Regions from separate parts of the Homo sapiens genome. Here region 2 is linked to region 1. The links are contacts of gene promoters, found by promoter capture Hi-C in human tissues and cell types (Jung and others, 2019). All regions are on one chromosome and are shown on one strand. Each heading gives the region's core, a stretch centred on a gene start or on the middle of the fragment in contact. The rest is flanking DNA. Distances are from core to core; before and after follow the strand shown. Region 1 holds the start of MYL10 (myosin light chain 10). Region 2 has its middle 20 kb from the start of CUX1.

Evidence for each region. The method cuts DNA at HindIII sites, captures the fragments that hold promoters and counts their contacts. A contact is called where the count stands out against the background at its distance.
Region 2: a fragment that was not itself captured here is called in contact with the fragment with the promoter of MYL10 in region 1 in 2 of the 25 tissues and cell types used here (IMR-90 fibroblasts and lymphoblastoid cells).

What each region holds. Positions count from the first base shown.
Region 1 is chr7:101,624,628-101,630,610 of GRCh38, reverse strand. MYL10 (myosin light chain 10) reads left to right here and starts at 1,315. Exons shown (of 8, transcript NM_138403.5): 1 at 1,315-1,570. The coding sequence starts at 1,493. RefSeq lists an enhancer at 5,772-5,983. The HindIII fragment of the contact is 21,528 bases long and covers 1-5,983 here.
Region 2 is chr7:101,794,634-101,800,920 of GRCh38, reverse strand. No RefSeq gene overlaps it. Among named protein-coding and RNA genes, the nearest start is that of CUX1, 20 kb to the left of the region's middle. The HindIII fragment of the contact is 4,862 bases long and covers 929-5,790 here.

The DNA.
Region 1 (5,983 bases), core at 66-2,565:
CCGGGCATGGAAAGCCTGCACCCTAGCCACTGTCGCGGTCACACAGGCCCCCTTCTGTAGCAGGTCCAGGCGGCTGGGACTGGAATCCAGGCTCCCGTCCCCAGAGCTGGGTTCTCCTTTCCGCCTGGCTTGTTGAACACCTGTGGAACGTGTGGTTTTTCTCCCCGGAGAGGAACGCCAGGACACCAGGAGAGCAGCCCTGTCGGGGAAACTGAGGCACACGGTTTCCTGCTGCAGAAAGCGGGCTGCACAGCATCATGGCTGGACCTGGCCCCAGCTCTGGGAGGAGCACTCAGTCACAGGAGTTTAGGGACATCAGAAATAGCTGTAGTCAGGGATGACTGGGAGGGAGCAGGAGGAGGGGAGAGTTTGGATGAGCAGAACCTTTTGGAAGCTTCCTTCTGGAAACACTAGAAAGAGGGGCTCTTGTCCTGGCCCTCCCTCTCTCTCTCTCTTTTTTTTTTTTTTTTTTTTTGTTTTAGAAATGAGACCTTGATCTGTTGTCCAGGCTGGAGTGCAGTGGTGCAATCACAGCTCATTGAAGCCTCAACCTCCTGGGCTCATGTGATCCTCCCACCTCAGCCTCCTAAGTAGCTGGGCCTGCAGGCATGTGCCACTGATACAGGAGGGGGGACAGGGAAGTGCTGAGAGGAGAAAGGCAGGGTCCCTGGCAAGGGCTCCACCCTTGGGCCTGTGCCCACGGACCTAGGTGAGGACAGGCACTCCTGTTTATATGCCCAAATGTCACATTTTCCAAGACCACCCTGGCCCACCACGCCCCCCGCCCCCCCGCCCATCCTGTGCCTATGAAAACCCTGAGACCCCAGTGGGTACACACACAGGTGGCTGGACATCAAGAGGAGCAGAGGATCGGAAGAGCACACCGACAGCACTGGCAGATGCTGGCAGGCCATCGACTGGCTGAATAACACAAATGCCCAGGGGAATTTGGCTGGGGATGGTCAGAGGAGAGTCTGGCTGCTGAGCACCTTGACTTCAGGGGAAAAATCACCTTCCCACTCCATCCCCCTTCTGGCTCCCCATCATCTGCTGAGAGCTACTTCCACCACTCAATAAAACCTCGCACTCATTCTCCAAGCCCACATGTGATTCAATTTTCACAGTACACCAAGGCAAGAACCCCAGGATACAAAAAGCCCTTTGTCCTTGCAATAAGGCAGAGGGTCTAACTGAGCTGATGAACACAAGCCACCTACAGATGGCAAAAGTAAAAGAGCATCCTGTAACACACGCCCACTGGGGCTTCAGGAGCTGTAAGCATCCACCCCTAGACACTGCCGTGGGGTCGGAGCCCCATAGCCTGCCTGTCTGCATGGTCCGCCTAGAGGTTTGAGCAGCTGGGCATGGAAGAAGCGAGCCACACCCCCATCGCATGCCCTATGAACGGGATAAGGGAACTTTTTCACTTCACCACTATGCCTGACTAATTTTTTAATTAAAAAAAATTTTTTTGTAGAAACAGAGTTTCACCATGTTGCTTAGGCTGGTCTCAAACTCCTGGCCTCAAGTGATCCTCCCTCCTCGGCCTCCCAAAGTGCTGGGATTACAGGTATGAGCCACTGTGCCTGGCCTCTGGCCCCACTTCTTATCTGCCTTGGGTGAGTGACTTAACCCATGCGTGCCTCAGTTTCCTCATCTGGAAAATGGGATATGGATTGAATGTGAGGACACGTGTTTTAAGACATGGCCTGACCTTCTGTGTTGTATATTAGCTGCTCTTCTTATTATTATTATGATATTCCCTTCCCCAAAGGCAGGGGATCAGCTGTACCCGGGGCTGAAGGCCTGAGGCCAGCTCCAGGGACAGTTAAGCTCTCCAGCCCCTGGGGACCCGTGGGCTCACTGCCTGAACCCAGCACTGCCGGCCCTGGCAGCTGTTCAGATATGGCGGGCCCCAGATGGACAGTGGCAGCCTCTGAGGCCGAGCTGGGGCTGCTGGGGCTGCACTAGACACAGGAGGGGCTTTCCAGGGCAGGTGTGGGCTCTGTTTGGCAGATCTACTAGAGAATTCTTGGGCTGGGCCAGGCCTGGTGGGGATGGATGTGTGTGTGTGAGGCCAGGGTGGAATGGAGGTCTCATTTTTCAGTTCTTCCTCATCAGAGTCACCTCCAGTTTTCTGTTTTCTTTTTTTTAAGAGACAATATCTCACTCTGTCGCCCAGGCTGGAGTGCAGTGGCACAATCATAGATCACTGCAGCCTCAAACTCCTGGACTCAAGCAATCCTCCTGCCTCAGCCTCCTGAGTAGGTGGGACTACAAGAGCACACCACCATGCTCGGCTAATTTTTTTGATATTTTGTAGAGATAGGGGTCTCACTATGTTGCCCAGGCTGGTCTTGAACTCCTGGCCTGAAGCGATCCTTCCCTCTTGGCCTCCGAAAGCTCTGGGATTACAGGCGTGAGCCACTGCGCCCACCCCATTTTTCTTTTATTTGTCCTGTTGCTTTCTCTGTTCATTGAGCATTTCAGTGCCCTGAGGGGGTCCCCTGGCCTGGGGGTGCTTAATGGACACCCTGATAATAGGCATATTGGTAGAAGGGGCCCCCGAGGGCCAGGTTGGTGCAGAAACTCTCTCCATAAGCAGACCGGGGGTTTCATACACTCCCCCCTATTCCTATGAGATGGCTGAGCCTCCTAGAGGGTGATGTCCCACCCAGAGTCCCACAGCTCCAGAGGTCCGGCCACACTGCAGTCTGAGTGGGTCCCAGCCAGCATGGGTGGCCCCACCCTGGGCAACACTCCCTGACGGCTCAAGGCCAAGTCTTCCCATTGGGGTAGGCAGCCTCAACTTACTCTGTGTCCTTGGCCAAATGCCCCTTCCTGGGTCTTGGTCCCTTGGCTCTAGAGAAAACAGTTGGCCCAGGGCTCTCGGAGATCCTGGAGGCTTAGGCAGTCCCTGCGTCCGTGGTATTTGCCCACGGATTCCCCCCAACCCTATCCACTCTGAATGGCCCAAGGCAGGTGCCTGGCAGGGAGGTCTCCGTCCTGTCATGGATCACCTTCCACACTGGGCCCGGTGCATGCCAGGGGCCCTGGGAGGACCACTATTTAAGGGCCATCTCTGAGCTATCCCCAGGCCAACTGCAGCTTCAGGGAGCTCTCCAGACCATGGTAGGCTGGGGTTGTTCTGCTCTGCCACGGCTACCTTCCTCTCACCTCCACCTCCTCCCTGGGGAGCTCAGGCCTGTGGCTGTTGTGTCTTTGGCTTCAGCACTGCGGTCCCCTCCCTCCCACCCCTGCCCCTGCCCCTGCCCCTGCCCCTGACCTCACTCCGCAATTCCTTTTCTTTTTTAGACAGAATCTCACTCTGTTGCCCAGGTTGGAGTGCGGTGGCTCGATCTCGGCTCACTGCAACCTCCACCTCCTGGCTTCGAGTGAGGTTCCTGTCTCAGCCTCCCGAGTAACTGGGATTACAGGCGCCCGCCACCACACATGGCTATTTTTTTTTTTTTGTATTTTTGGTAGAGACGGGGTTTCACCATGTTGTCCAGGTTGGTCTCGAACTCCTGACCTCAAGTGATTCACCCGCTTCGGCCTCCCAGAGTGCTGGGATTACAGGCGTGAGCCACAGCGCCCGGCCTCATTTCTCAACTTTGACCTTGTTCTGTGACCTTGACTCTGTGTGTGATTCTGACCTTCACCTCCTGCCTGAATTCATCCTGCCTCTCACTGACCTTCCTGACCTTAATCTGATGTTGTCCCTGGTCTGACCTGCTCTTTGCTCTTGATCCCATGCTTGGACCTGCCCCACTCGGGACTCCTCTCCACGTGGGTCCTGATTTGAGCCTCTGCTTTCCTGGACTTTGTGGGGACTGCTGGGGAATGAGGAAGAGGAGGGTGGAGAGAGACGAGGTGGGCAGGGCCTGGGGGCTTCACAGGGGCAGTGGCTCTGAGGGCAGGGGCCCCCTGGGAGGGCCGGGGGTCAGTATTTGGGGCAGCGTGGCACCTCTGGAGCTCCGAGGTCCCCCTGTTCACCTTTGCCTGTGCACCTCATGTGACGCAGGGCTTGCTCTGGGTTCCTGCCCCTGGGGACTCCCTGCGGGGTATCAATCTGGCTGTCCCTCTGTGCCTGTGTCTCACCTGCCTCATTAGTTAGTCCCTCTCGGCACAGAGCTCTGACTTGGCTGTCAGCCTCGGCTTGTCACCTCCTGACTGCCCGAGGGCCTAGGGGCTTCTCTGTCTTGTCTTCTCAGCGCTTGTCCCTCCTCCGAGTCAGCCTCTATGGACTGCCTGTCACCAGCGGGACTGTGATCTTCTTGGGGACCAAGACGGGGCCTGATTCAGCCCTGGGTCCCCAGGACGGACCTGCCTGGAGGTCCGTAGGTGTCTAATACATGTCCTGATGCTTTGAGGTTGACCTGCTCTAGGTTTTATAAATGGGGAAACAGGCTCAGAGAAGACAAGTGAATTTCTTAACATCACGGAGGCTGGGAGCAGCCAAGCCAGGCTTTGAACCCAGATCCGGGTGACCCCCCCTTCTTCCCTGAGATGTTCCTTTCAGGGGAATTTTATTTTTCAGGGGCCCATTCTCAAAAGGAATTTTCAAGACAGCTGGGCTGCAAAGACCCTAGGGTTTAGGACTCTTGTGCTGTAAAGAAAATGATCTCTCCCTCCCTCGTGGAGCTCTGGGACAGTGTAGGGTGGGGGTGTAACCAGGGGGATCATGAGAGGCTGGGGGCGTGGGGGGCAGGGACTGAGGACGCCGAGGCCACAGCCAGGTGTGCCAGAGAAAGGGCAGAACCTCCCACAGACGGAAGTGATCATTTTTTATTAATCGGAGGAAATGTATATGTAATTATGTGGGATGAACTCTGTGGGGAAGTTCTTTTCTTTATGATGTCTGAAAGGATTTATAAATATTACAGAGGTTTTACAGCATCATAACGTCCCGGCCGCCCTGGCAGCCCCCTTTCAAAGGATTAGGAGAGACAGAGCACCCAGTAAAAGCTAATTATAAGTCAGCCGGCGCTTCTGCCCCTGCCCTCGACGACGCGGGCTCCTGGGCGGGGGTGGGGACAGCAGTGAGCTGGGGGCAGGGGAGACCACACAGGCGTTGGGGGAGGGGAGCAGGGGATGAGGGGACTCCTCTGCTCTGGTGGGGGCAGGTAGACAAGGGCTTGGCAGGAGAGGGTGGTACAAGTTGTGACGGAGACAGGAGCTGGTGGTGGGAACCCATTTCTGTGCCATCCCGTCCACCTCCCCGTCTGGAATCCAGCAATTCTTTTCCCCCATCGAGAGCCCATTCTGGGGCTCACAGCGCCCCTGGGGGCTGTAAGGATGGCTGCCCAGGAACAGGACTCTTGAGGGTCTTGGGGACCTAGGGCTTTCAGCAAATGCCCAATGGTGGACTTCCAGACACCCTGACATCACAGAGGCAGGAAGGCTGGCCAGAAACCATCTGACTACTCAACGTGGGTGGCCTCCTGCTTTGCCTGCTGCGTGGGTTGGCCCTGAGTTCTGGGCAGCTATTTCCAAGCACTGGCTGATCCCCACTTTGAGCCAGGTTCAGGGTGGGGATAGGAGAGATCAGAGATGGGGCAAAGTGGGTTTTACCCCTGAGATGTCCACTTAGTCGAGGACACAGACGCACAGATATGTCAGGACAGTGTGATACATGCTGTAGGGGTGACAGTCCACAGTGGAGCCATGTGGGGAGGGGAGAGTGGCCTGGGGTCAGGGAAGGCTTCTCGGAGGAGGTGACAGGGAGCTGAGCCTGCAGGATGGGTAGGAGTCTCTAGATAGATTCTCCAGGGAAGGCATTCCAAGCAGGGAATTCCAACAGAGCAACGCATTCCAGGCAGGGGCAAACGCTGGGAGGGAAGGCAGCTCTGGGACAGAGTAGAGGGCCTGGGTGAGAGGGAGTAGCAGCTCTGGGACAGGGCAAGAGGCAGATCCTGTGGTGGGGCTAAGAGCGCAGTTGTTCTCCTGAGAACACGAAGAAGGTTTTTAGCAGCTGGCGATA
Region 2 (6,287 bases), core at 2,110-4,609, 170 kb before region 1:
AAGATTGTGCCACTGCACTCCAGCCTAGGCGACAGAGTGAGACGCTATCTCAAAAAAAAAAAAAATGATAACACATGTCCAGTGTCTGTGGGACACCTAGCATGTATAAAGGCCAGTTTCTATCCCAGCACTTGGGGAGGCCGAGGTAGGGGGATGGCTTGAGGCCAGGAGCTCAAGACCAGCCTGGGCAACATAGCAAGACTACGTCTCTACAAAAGATTCAAAAAGTTAGCTGGGGCACGGTGGCACATGCACTTGTTTTCCCAGCTGCTCAGGAGGCTGAGGCAGGAGAATCACTTCAGCCCAGCAGTTGGCGCCTGCAATGAGCTGAGATCGTACCACTGCACTCCAGCCTGGGTAACAGAGTGAGACTGTCTCAAAAAATTTGTTTTTTTAAAATTGCCTGAGCCTAAGAAGATATAGTAGGTGAAAAATGAACATAAAATGATGCGTGGGTGACATCTTCTCTATTTTGCTCTGTGTTTCCAAGCATCTGATATAAATAATTTACAGTGTTAAAAATGAGTTAACAGGCAGGGTTTTTGATGGACAGAAGAAAATTCATTCTAAAAGAGGGCTAGTCTTCATAATGAGAGGCTGCTGAGTGGAGGAAAATTTCGAATTTAGACAAGCATCTTTTACATAGTTATTAATCCGGTTGGATAGAATTTTTAATAATTAAATGGTATTACTGCAATATAAGTGATATTTTATTAAGCTTAAATGAAATGTGCATTTAGGAACTTCATTTGAAACATTGCCTACTTTGTTATTCTATTTTTCATAATTGCATATGTTTGGAAATTATGTTTTGCCTTCCGCACTGTATTATCTGCCTTAGCCCTTTGCCTTATTTATAGGAATGTTATTTCTTATGTTTTAAGGAAATTGATATGAAAGCTCTAAATGACAAACTCCGAAGCTAGCTTCAAAAGTTTCTGACTAATCGCTAATGAAATATCCATAATAGATGAGGAAGAAAGCATAAATCCCAATGAAACACAGCTTCACTTCGTAAGTGTCTCGTGTTTGTTTGACAGCTTTTGAAATTTTCTTTGTCATTTGGAAAATCAATACAAAATACAGCTAAACACCAGACTTTGCCTCTCAGCCTAAGACAAAATAAAAGATTGAAAGCTTCCATATCACCAGCTGTCAATTTTTGAAGATCATATTGCTTAATGCAATAATTTTTTTCTCTGCCCAAACATTACTCAGCCTCCATGATCTCTTGTTAAGACCCAGATGCACACACATTATGTCTGTGAATTCACAAAGACGCGAGACAGCTGGTGGTTATCGGTTTAGTCGATTAATATAGAGAGAATGGTAATGAATGACTACCGTCTCCACCCCTGCCCACTCTTATTTTGAGAGTAAATTGTGCACCCTGGCTTCCTGAAAGAGCACGGATTAACCAGCGCTCCTAACTGTCCTTTGCTTGTTGTTTGTTTGTGAGGTGTTTGTTTGTTTGTTTGTTTGTTTGGAGACTGGATTTCACTTTGTCTTCCAGGCTGGAGTGCAGTGGAGCAATCATAGCTCATTGCAGCCTCAAACTCCTGGGCTCAAGTGATCCTCCTGCCACAGCCTCCCAAGTAGCTAGGACCACGGAAGTGTGCCACCACACCTGGCTAATTAAAAAAAATTTTTTTTTATAGAGACAGGGTCTCTCTATGTTGCCCAGGCTGGTCTCAAACTCCTGGCCTCAAGCAATCCTCTTGCCTCAGCCTCCTGAGTAGCTGGGACTACAGGTGCATGCCCAGCTATTAAAAAAAAAACAAAAAAAAAAACCTTTTTTTTTTTTTTTGAGACAGAGTCTTGCTCTGTTGTCCAGCCTGGAGTGCAATGGCTCGATCTTGGCTCACTGCAACCTCTGTCTGCCGGGTTCAAGCAATCCTTCTGCCTCAGCCTCCCGAGTAGCTGGGACTACAGGCAAGCACCACCATGCCAATCTAGTTTTTTATATTTTTAGTACAGATGGGGTTTCACCATGCTGGCCAGGCTGGTCTCGAACTCCTGACCTCAAGTGATCTGCCTGCCTCGGCCTCCCAAAGTGCTGGGATTACAGGCGTGAGCCACCGTGGCCAACCAAAAACAATCTTTATAGTGATGGGGTCTTGCTATATTGCCCAAGCTGGCCTCAAACTCCTGGACTCAAGCAATCCTCCCAAAGTGTTGGGATTACAGGCGTAAGCCACCACAGCCAGCCTCCTAGTCCCTTCTTAACTTCTCTTAAATCGTCCCTGTTTGATTCTGTTTCCTGCTAGTCCCCTGACGGATACAGCAGGAATTAAAAAATATATATTTAACTTGTACATAAGTGAATGGAAATGAATAAAGAAAACATGTACACAACTTAGCAAAGTAGGATTCAGTTGGGAGCTGGTTCACTTTTCCCTGTTGTTAGTATGCATAATACCACACTTTTCTTTCTTTCTTTTTTTTTTTTTTTTTTGAGACAGCGTCTCGCTTCATCGCCCAGGCTGGAGTGCAGTGCAGTGGCGTGATCTCAGCTCACTGCTACCTCCACCTCCCGGGCTCAAGCAATTCTCTTGCCTCAGCCTCCTGAGTAGCTGGACTACAGGTGCGCCACCACGCCTGGCTGATTTTTTGCATTTTAGTTGAGACGTGATTTCATCATGTTGCCCAGGGTGGTCTTGAACTCCTGAGCTCAGGCGATCCACCCCCCTCGGCCTCTCAAAGTGCTAGGATTACAGGCATGAACCACCACACCCAGCCTAGTATGCATAATACCATAATTTTTTTAAAAAATTTTAAGTTCTGGGATACATGTGCAGAAAGTGCAGGTTTGCTATATAGGTATACATGTGCCATGGTGGTTTGCTGCACCTATCGACCTGTCATCTAGGTTTTAAGCCCCGCATGCATTAGACATCTGTCCTAATGTTCTCTCTCTCCTTGCCCCCCCACCCCCCAACAGGCCCCGGTGTGTGATGTTCCCCTCCCTGTGTCCATGTGTTCTCATTGTTCAACTCCCACTTATGAGGGAGAACATGCGGTGTTTGGTTTTCTGTTCCCGTGTTAGTTTGCTGAGAATGACGGCTTCCAGCTTCATCCATGTCCCTGCAAAGGACATTAACTCATTCTTTCTTTCTTTATTTTTTTTTTGAGATGGAGTTTCTCTCTTGTTGCCCAGGCTGGAGTGCAGTGGTGCCATCTCGGCTCACTGCAACCTCTGCCTCCGAGGTTCAAGTGATTCTCCTGCCTCAGCCTCCCAAGTAGCTGGGATTAATTACATGCATGCACCACTATGCCTGGCTAATTTTGTATTTTTAGTGGAGGCGAGGTTTTAGCATGTTGGTCAGGCTGGTGTCAAACTCCTGACCTCAGGTGATCCACCTGCCTCAGCCTCCCAGAGTGCTGGGATTACAGGGGTGAGCCACTGTGCCCGGCCAAACTCATTCTTTTTTATGGCTGCATAGTATTCCATGGTGGCGTAATACCATAATTCTAATGCATCCCTGATTTAGTTCTTTTTCTGCTAACCTCTAAACACAGGGAGGCAGGCACCAAGCCTGTCTTCCTCCTTTCTCATTCTTTTGACTTCAGGGCCAGGCTGTGTCAATAAAGATGTGTAGAATGAATGAAGGCATTCCTGGCTGATTGTATGCAATGACAACATCTCTTGCTGGGTCTGAGGCCGAAGTCCTTTGCTGTTCTGATCTGAGAGCATTTAGCTCTGAGGATCAAGTGAGAAGCCTCAAAGGCCATGTGCTCAAAGCGTAGAACAGTCTGACCCCTGTTTCCTGCAACAGACAGGGGCGAGTTAAAGGTGATACACTCTCTTGCAAACGGCTCACGGGGTGTCCTGGGAACTCTCATGGGGAGACGTGGAGTTTCTGGTGTGGGTGAAGATTGGGAAAGACATTTGCAAAGTGAGGACCAACAGAGGCCGAGGGCTGGAAAGAACAGGCTTTCATCATTGTCAGGGAACTGTGACAGAGAGAAGCAAGCCCAGGAAACGAGTTGGGTAACCTTCAGCTTCTCCATTACTTTTTTTTTTTTTCTTTGAGACAGAGTCTCGCTCTGTCACCCAGGCTGGAGTGCAGTGGCGCGATCTCGGCTCACTGCGAGCTCCACCTCTCGGGTTCACGCCATTCTCCTGCCTCGGCCTCCTGAGCAGCTGGGACTACAAGTGTCTGCCACACACCTGGCTAATTTTTGTGTATTTTTGGTAGAGACGGGGTTTCACCGTGTTAGCCAGGATGGCTTTTTTTTTTTTTTTTTTTTTTGAGATGGAGTCTCGCTCTGTCACCAGGCTGGAGTGCAGTGGCACAATCTCAGCTCACTGCAACCTCCGCCTCCTGGGTTCAAGAGATTCTCCTGCCTCAGCCTCCCAAGTAGCTGGGATTACAGATGCCCGCCACCACGCCCGGCCAATTTTTCTATTTTTAGTAGAGAGGGGTTTCACCATGTTGGCCAGGGTGGTCTCGAACTCCTGATCTCATAATCCGCCTGCCTCGGCCTCCCAATCTGCATTACTTTTATTAATAACACTTAGCCTTGAAGCATGGATCTGGAGACAGGCATGTGAAGGCATCCAGTTTGCAGAAAGAACTTGGTCAAGTTTGACTTCAACAATTTCTCTTGGAGGAAAAAAAAAAAGCAGCAGCTCTGAACTCCAGTGGGATTTCCTGCACCTTAAATCTTGGGCATCGAGATCGCCTGGGTATGGTCATCACTAAAAGGACAATGGTAGGGTATTGGAAGTAAGTAGCATAGGCCAGATGGGGTGACTAATGCCTGTAATCCCAGCACTTTGGGAGGCCAAGGCTGGTGGATCACCTGAGGTCAGGAGTTCAAGAGCAACCTGGGCAACATGATGAAACCCCATCTCTACTAAAAATACAAAAATTAGCTGGGCATGGTGGCGGGCACCCGTAATCCCAGCTACGTAGGAGGTTGAGGTATTGCTTGAACTGGGAGGTAGAGGTTGCAGTGAGCCGAGATCACGCCATTGCACTCCAACCTGGGTGACAAGAGCAAAACTCTGTCTCAAAATAAATAAACATATAAATAATAAAATGTCTGCTATAGTGTTTGGCACAGAATAGATGCTCAAATTTTGGGGAGCTAGGACTTATCATTCTGGTTCCACTTTGGTATCATTAGTCTGCTCATGGTGTGTTTAGGCCACCTCAAGTCCTCTGGCCAGACTCTTAAAGGAGGCCAGCCTCCATGGGCTCACACCTTGGTGAAGGCGGCATCCCCCACCAGGCATAGGTAAGTATGGACTTCTCCTCCAGGCTAGGCTGTGCTGTGCTAGGCCAGGCAACCCTGACATGCGTGGTATTAGGTGGGGCCGGAAAAAAGGGGCTTAAGAAGGTGATGCAGGGCTGGGTGCAATGTAATCCCAGCACTTTGGGAGGCCGAGGCAGAAGGATCACAGGGTCAAGAGATCGAGACCATCCTGGCCAACATGGTGAAACCCCATGTCTACTAAAAATACAAAAATTAGCTGGGTGTGGTGGCATGTGCCTGTAGTCCCAGCTACTCGGGAGGCTGAGGCAGGAGAATTGCTTGAACTTGGGAGGTGGAGGTTGCAGTGAGCTGAGATCACGCCATTGCATTCCAGCCTGGGTGACAGAGTGAGACTCCGTCTCAAAAAAAAACAAAAAATGATGATACAGAAATCAGGTCCGTAAAGCCCAGTTTCTGCCTTGGGCAGCTTCTAGGTCATGGATGGTGGAGAGATGATAGAAGTGGACACCACGTGACTGGACCCTCACTGTGCATCAGAAAGAGGGAAAGATTGGGAACGACAGCCCAGACCCTTCTGCTTTTCTTTTTTTCTTTTTTTAGATGGAGTCTTGCTCTGTCGCCCAGGCTGGAGTGCAGTGGCGCAATCTCGGCTCACTGCAAGCTCCACCTCCCGGGTTCACACCATTCTCCTGCCTCAGTCTCCTGAGTAGCTGGGACTACAGGCACCCGCCACCACGCCCGGCTAATTTTTTGTATTTTTAGTAGAGACGGGGTTTCGCTGTGTTAGCCAGGATGGTCTCAATCTCCTGACCTCATGATCCGCCCACCTCAGCCTCCCAAAGTGCTGGGATTACAGGCGTGAGCCACTGCACCTGGCCTTCTTTTTCTTTTTTAGAGAAAAAGGTCTTGCTTTGTTGCCCAGGCTGGAGTGCAGTGGTGCGACCATAACTCACTGTACCCTCAAACTCCTGGGCTCAAGGGATCCTCCCATCTCAGCCTCCCAAGTAGCTGGGACTACAGGCACATGCCACCACTCCTGGATAAATTTTTTTTTTTTTAATAGA